Regions from separate parts of the Homo sapiens genome. Here region 1 is linked to region 2. Evidence: promoter capture Hi-C in human tissues and cell types (Jung and others, 2019). All regions are on one chromosome and are shown on one strand. Each heading gives the region's core, a stretch centred on a gene start or on the middle of the fragment in contact. The rest is flanking DNA. Distances are from core to core; before and after follow the strand shown. Region 1 overlaps SLC22A3 (solute carrier family 22 member 3). Region 2 holds the start of IGF2R (insulin like growth factor 2 receptor).

Region 1 (3,791 bases), core at 955-3,454, 390 kb before region 2:
GACTGCAATTGGAAAGAAGTGTGGGGTTCTGAGTGAGTCCACATCCAGCAACCCCAGACTAGACCAGGCAAGGGGAGGACTTGGGCACCACAGTTAGTGACAAAGAGCAAGAAGGAGGGAACTGGCATGTGCCCAGGACCTTCCACATGCTCAGCGGTTCCTGCATGTTTCTCATTTGTCCCCAGAGCCACCCGGATGGGGGGATTGTTCACTCTATATCACAACTGAATCCACGGGGGCTTGAGAAATCTTGCCAAATCTGGTAGCTCCGACCTCTACCCTGGGCCTTTCCCTAGTTTTCATTACTAAGCTCCAGTTTATACCAGCTCCAGAGAGTGGACCCTGGCCACGTCCTTAGTATTGGAATCTTGGTGCCCTGCCTAAAGCACGCTTCCCTCAGCCCTAGGGGCTTGCCATTTGCCTGAATTTCCAGGCCCAAGCTGCCTCTCTGAGTCAACTTTCTCAGTATCTGTTGTCAGCATCTATGATCATCACCAGCTACTTACATATCTCAGACAACAGGACAAGCACTTTGAATGCCTTATTTACCTAAGTCTCCCCACTAAAACCAGGAAATCTCAGGACTGGGCTAGTCCAGAGCTCAAAAACCCTCAAATTCAGCCATTTGCTTGCATCCACAAAACTAGGAAGTCTACGTTCTTAGCCACCTATTTGCCTTAGCAATACACTACACTAAACCAGTTTGGATCTAAAATTTGATAATTTTTTCACAAAACTCTGCAACAATAAATTGTTATTATCTAATGATCTCTGGAGTTGATAAATAGACAATTTTATTTGGTTTTATAATGTATTCAACTTGGTTGGAATTAAAATAAAAATCATTATGTATGCTCTATTAGATACAGACTGGATAGGGAATTGTAGCAATCTTACAAGGATGCTAGGAGCTGACAAGAGATGTGATAAATTTGTCACATAATTTCCCACTAACTGCCACACAGGAAGATCAAGAACCTCTGTGGAAAAGGTTCCTGGAACACTTTCTTACACTCTAATAACTTGGACATTTATTTATTTGATTTCTTTAAAGTTGATGCCAAATTAATCTGAATTAGTTTCAATCTAATTTTCTCCTCTACCCTGGGTAGTTAATGTTTTTAACTATCCAGGTGACTTCTCTATGGGTATTTTCTTTAAGATACTCATTTGTGAACAATTAAAGGGCATTCATTTCTCAACAGATATTTGCAGTGCATTGCTTTTTAAAACGTCATCAATATTAAACGTGCAGGCTGTTTTCACCACAACCACTTAATCCCCATAAATGTGCTACAAACAGTTTTTAGTATAGGAGCTCCTGGCACCTTGTCCCTTCGGTTTCTGTCTCAGAAGCATCAGCTTACGGCGTCCCTCCCCACTAGCCTGGAAGCACACATGTTGTCTTTCATTTTGTGCTGTCGATTGCCCAAAGCTTCCCGTTGGCAGAAGTGTCATGAAATCAGAGCCATCCTGTGTGTATGCTAGGTGGACGCAGCAACTGGGAAAGGCTTCTGGGACGCTTTTCCATGTTGGGACCAGTGGTCTCTGTTAATGGAAAGCCAAAGACTTGCTTATCACTTGGTTATCTCCACTGCTGGTGCCCTATAGCAGTCCTATGACAGAGGTCACCTGCTCTCCCAGGACTGAATTTGAAAGCAGAATAGGTGCCTTTGTTTCTCAGGTCCAGGCTTGTGCCTACCCTTCCTCCATCCAGTGGTTTCCACTATGCTCACAGTCAAGGACAGCTCCCCTCCTTGGACTCTACAGGGCACTAGAATCTAGAGCAGATGTTAAGGAAGGTGGGATGGATGCCTGCCCCAGAATTGTTTAAATTACATTTATTTATTCACCTTCTTCTAAGCCCCTAAACTTCACCCCTCACTAATTTTCTCTATTATCACACAAGTACCAGCCACAGAGTTATTTTGCTTTATTACCAACACGAAGAGAAATAACAGCATGGTAACCCTTAAAAAGCTGTTACTGATCTCACCCAGATAAAACAGTATTAGCCATGATTTGACAAGCTCAACAGTCATTTATCATTTTAAAAAGCCACACCAAAGACCATTAAAACTTTGCTTTTTCCTCACAGAATATAAATACATGTCCTTTCTTGGTTATGATTTAAGAGGGGGTGGGGAAAAAACCGAGGCAGAATGTTGGAAAGGTTTTAGTTTGTTTTGGAAGGTAGGTGGTGTTTGCTCCCCACTCCATAGCCATGAAGGGGACAGCGCTGCACCCTGGGAGCTGCTCAGCCCAGGCCCTTCAGTGCTCCTCCCTGCACCGGGCCTTGCACCTGTGCCCAGCTGCCCTGGAGCAGGCTCGATTGATGACACAGACTACTGTGTGGTGCCAGGACAGCTGGGAAAAGTCTCTTCTGCACAATGGACGTCAGCACATTAAAATTATGGCCCCAAAGAGCCAGCAGTTCTATTCCTTCCTGTCCCTTTCATGTTCCAGGTCACACCCCCTACATTAGGATTCTGCGGACACAGACCCCATGAGCAGATAGGAGTCAAGTAAAGTGGAGGCCTGTTTTCCTCCTGCTCCAGAGGTCTGCGGGCGGCCATGGCCGCCGATGATTGTTCACCCTGTGACTGATCACACCTCATGGATGCAAGGCAGAAGATGATGAAGGCGGAGGATGAGGCAAGGAATCGGCGTTAGGAGTCAACAGGAAGCAACACCATCGGTAGAGGGCCTGGGTTAATCTCTGAAAGCCAATTCCAGGGTTGGCCTAGCCATGGTCATAAAAAGCATTACACGTGCCAAGGAATCCCTTTCTCTTTCATTCATTAATTTAATCACAAATATTTGCCAAACACTGCGTTAGGCTAGGAGGGCAGAGCGCCGGCCCTCCAGCACCTCAGAGTCTGATGAGGCAGTGAGCACAAGATGAGTAGAGGGAAGGCAGCTAGACAGATAAAGGAAGCCAAGCCCAGCCCTGGGTAGAGGCAGCAGTGGGGAAGGTGTGTCTGGAATTGGTGTGTGTAAAGGTACAAAACGGAACAGCCTCATGAGAAAAGACAAGTTTTTTGTTGTTGTTGTTGTTGTTGTTGTTTTGAGACAGAGTCTCTAACTGTCGCCCAGGCTGGAGTGCAGTGGTGCGATCTCAGCTTACTGCAAGCTCCGCCTCCCGGGTTCACGCCATTCTCCTGCCTCAACCTCCCCGGTAGCTGGGACTACAGGCAGCCGCCACCATGCCTGGCTAATCGTTTTTGTATTTTTTTTTTTTTTAGTAGAGACGGGGTTTCACCGTGTTAGCCAGGATGGTCTCGATCTCCTGACCTCGTGATCTGCCCACCTTGGCCTCCCAAAGTGCTGGGATTACAGGTGTGAGCCACCGTGCCCGGCCGAGGAAAGACAGGTATTTTGAGGAAAGGAAAGGAAACAGCGCACACAAGAGCCCAAGGGGAGGACAGCTGTGGCACATGTCCCAGGGTGACTGCCTGGAGAGTGGGAGCCCCGGGGGCTAAGAGAGGGAAAAGCCTCTATAGGCGGAGACATGGGGTGGAGGCACAGAGACCTTGTGTACCAGACCTAGGGGAGGATGCTCTTAGAGGCACCAGCCTCCATACCATTTTGTCAGGTGCCCACAGCCTCGTGACCTGTGCCCTGCCAGGAAGCACACTAAGATGCTGTATGAGTCAGAGCAGCCTAACAGGAAGAGCTGCAACAAGCAGTCTCCCAAGCCTCAGTTGTGTAACACAATAAAGCTTATTTCTTATTCGCAATCCCATATTCCTGTGCAGATGAATTGGTGTGGAGGGGAGCTGTGGGGCTCC
Region 2 (3,518 bases), core at 710-3,209:
CTCGACTCGATCACAACTCACTGCAACCTCGACCTGCGGGGCTAACGTTATCCTACCACCTCAGCCTCCCTTAACTGGGAGGACAGGAGTGTGCCACCGCGCCCGGCTCTAATTTTCATATTTTTTGTAGAGACGGGGTTTCGCCATGTTGCTGAAGCTGGCCTCCAACTCCTGGACTCAAGTGACCCGCCCACCTCGGCCTTCCAAAGTGCTGGATTCCGGGCATGAGCCACCGCGCCCAGGCGAGTTAATTTCTTATTTTTGGTCACAGAAGCCATTATTCCAAAATGCCTTCCTCTAAATGTTGTTCTCAGCCTGACCTCGTTTAAGCTGCCACCATTTCTCTGTATCATACTAGTTACTGGAGTAACTATGTATCTTAGGGTAGCTAACTGGTCTTTAAACTAGTGTCACAAACTCTCCCTCCATCCACCCTTCCCCTTCCAAAAAAGGGAGCATAAAAAATATGGGCCTTTCCAAAGAGTTTCTATCGTGAGATCAGCCTCACCCTCCTTAGACTAATTTCTGCATGTTCTGAACACAGGGGTGCTAATAAAACTATCTCTGATGCATGGGAAAAATAAGAACCCCCCCCATAAACCCTACCACAAACTCCAAGTTCAGCCCAAAGTAGGCTCAACTTTGTTTCACTCTGAAAAGTAACTTGTAAAAGTAACTTGTAAAAGTAACAGTAACAGGGAGAAACTGTTGTCTGTTCAAAACTTTTCATCCTGCTTCCTTTTTACCAAAGTTTAAAAAAATAAACAAAAGCTGAATTTTCCATCATCCTAAACAGTCCAGAAAAGGATGGTCAGAAAATTCCTGAAATTCGAAGTTCCCCAGGCCCTGGACTGCTAGCAGTTGCGCGAGGTGAACAGCCCTCGATGGGACTGATGGGTTATACAATCATGGTTCCCAGAGCAAGATCCACTAGAATAATCCGCCCCGGAGACAATGACATCATGTGAGCAACCAGGCAGGAAGTTGGGCTCAGAGAAGTGAAGGGTCAAGTCTTGAAAGCTCACACTGGACGACACCCCCTGCCCCCAATCTAAAGAAGACAAAAGTCACCGCCTGCTAAAAATATATATATATATATATTCTTTAAAGAGAAAATGAGCCCACGGGGGGAAATCAATCAGCAAATGAAACCACAAACACTCAACTCCAGGACCATTCCTGCGGGCTCCAACGCCCCGGTGAGCCTCTCCACACCGAGGGGCCTCACCGGTGCCCCGCTGGCGAAACTCTGATGCAAACGCGCAGCGGGAACAAAGCAAACTGGAGTTCCTGCCTCCAACTTTCCCGGACGCCCGGCCGCGCGAGGGCAGGCGCCGACCCCAAGGGCCGGGGCGACCGCTCCGCACAAAGCCACCCCCGACTCAGCGACAGCCACAAGTGGCCGGACGCGGGGCTCCAGGACCGCCACGACCGCGTGTGCCCCCGCGCCCCCCGCCTGCGCACGGGACCCGGCGGGACTCGCGGACACCACGCAGGCAACTTTCCCTCGGGAACGGGGCGGACCCCGGCGCGGAACGGAGGCGACTTGGAGACCCCAGGAGCTCCTCGAGCGCTCCCCGCCCCCCACGCCGGCCGCTCACCCCGGGCACCGCGAGCGGAGCCTGCGTCCGGGCGGGCCACCCACCTGCACAGCTCGGGGAACGGGGCGGCCTGGGCCTGCGTGGACCCCGGGGCAGCGACGAGCAGCAGCAGCTGCAGCAGGAGCAGAGAGCGCTGCGGGCGGCGGGCGGGCGCGGGCCCCAGGTGGGGGCTCCGGCCGGCGGCGGCCCCCATCGCGCCGGGCCCGGACTGCGCGGCGGGCGCGAGGCTAACGGCGCGCGACTGCTGGGGGCCGCGCCCGGGACGGGGTCGCGCCGCCAGGGCAAAGGCGGAGGTGGAGACGGAGCGGGAGCCCGAGGTGAGCGCGGCTCGACTGGGCTCGGCGACAGCGACAGCGGCAGCGGCGGCCCCGGAACCGCGTCACGTGACAGCCGCCCGGCACCGCCCCCCCACCCCCGCCCCCCGCTCACGTGACTCCCTTGTTCAGGTGACCCCCGCCCGCCCCGGCTCCTCCCAGGCCCGGGTCACGTGAGCGCAGCGCGCGGGACAGGAAGCGGCGCGGGCGGGGCGCAGGCTCCAGGTGCCTCCCGGGGCCTGAGCCTCTCGGCGGGCTGGGCGCGGCGGGGGTGCCTAGCCGGGCCTCAGTTTCCCCTCCCACCGCGCCCTGCTGGATCGTGGCGGGTGCTTCCCAGGTTAGAGCAACTGTTCCCAACCTCGATCGACCAGTAGGGGAAAATAGGGAACTTGGATCAAAGTGCCAGGGAGGTAAATGCCTTCGCACAGCCTAGTGGCAGCGGATCCGTGGGGGGTGGGAACACACTTTAACTGCCCGTGGAGTCAAATCATGGGGGTTTACAACCTTGGCCCGTCAGAGCCTCTCAGACCTTCTGTGGGAATGTTATTTCCCAAGCGTGGGCTTCCTACAGCAAGGAAGGCAGCACAAATCCAGCAAGGTGAAAGAGTGGACAAAAGTGTCGCTGTCAAGCAAGTGCCACTCAACAAAGCTTTATTAATTCACTACGTGGATGGCCATGAGCTAGCCACAATGAAAGTAGAACGATGAATCTAAAAGTCTTGAACTAAAAAAATTCACTTTCTTTTAGAGTAAATATACAAAATAATCATGACTGAAAATAGTAATCATCATCATCATAAAAGCTCATCTTTTTTAGTGCTTATTCCATACCAGACACTGCTAAGCATGTAAGCATGAATCTTTAAAAACCTATGAGATGGGAACCTACTTATAGATGAGGAATTGAGGCACAAGGATACTCAGTGACTTACTCAAAGACACTCTGGGATGTGGCAAAGCTGGAATTCAAACACATATAAATAATCATGACCCAATAATAGCTAACATTTCTTGAGCAAGTAATTATGTACGAAGTACTGAAGTGTTCGGACACTGTGATTTAGCTCATTTAATCCTAACAGTCCTGTAAGAGGGGGTGCCTTTATTGCATCCGTTTTGCAGATAAGGAAAGTGAGGAATGGAGAAATTAAATAACTAGTTAGTCTTGCAGCTAGTAAGTGAAAAAGCCCGGGTTTGAGCCCAAGCCAGTCACAGGCCTGTGACATAACCACCGTGCTATTAATATATTGCCCAAGAAAAGAAAGTGTTGTAGTGGGTCAAAGGGAGAGCTCAGGTGTAAACTGTGGACGTCGAAAAAGGGTTTGTGGTGACCGGGCGCGGTGGCTCGCGACTGTAAACCCAGCACTTTGGGAGGCCAAGGCGGGCGGATCACAAGGTCAGGAGATCGAGACCATCCTGGCTAACACAGTGAAATCCCATCTCTACTAAAAATACAAAAAATTAACCGGGCGTGGTGGCACACGCCTGTAGTCCCAGCTACTCGGGAGGCTGAGGCAGGAGAATCGCTTGAACCCAGGAGGCAGAGGTTGCAGTGAGCAGAGATCGTGCCACTGCACTCCAGCCTGGGAAACAGAGCGAGATT

What was found. The method cuts DNA at HindIII sites, captures the fragments that hold promoters and counts their contacts. A contact is called where the count stands out against the background at its distance.
Region 1: a fragment that was not itself captured here is called in contact with the fragment with the promoter of IGF2R in region 2 in 1 of the 25 tissues and cell types used here (H1 embryonic stem cells).

The regions. Positions count from the first base shown.
Region 1 is chr6:160,355,050-160,358,840 of GRCh38, reverse strand. All of the region lies in intron 1 of SLC22A3 (solute carrier family 22 member 3), which reads right to left. Among named protein-coding and RNA genes, the nearest start is that of SLC22A3, 8.6 kb to the right of the region's middle. The HindIII fragment of the contact is 4,722 bases long and covers 1-3,791 here.
Region 2 is chr6:159,967,523-159,971,040 of GRCh38, reverse strand. IGF2R (insulin like growth factor 2 receptor) reads right to left here and starts at 1,959. Exons shown (of 48, transcript NM_000876.4): 1 at 1,646-1,959. The coding sequence starts at 1,794. RefSeq lists silencers at 1,339-1,468, 1,489-1,768, 1,779-2,398. The HindIII fragment of the contact is 6,621 bases long and covers 1-3,518 here.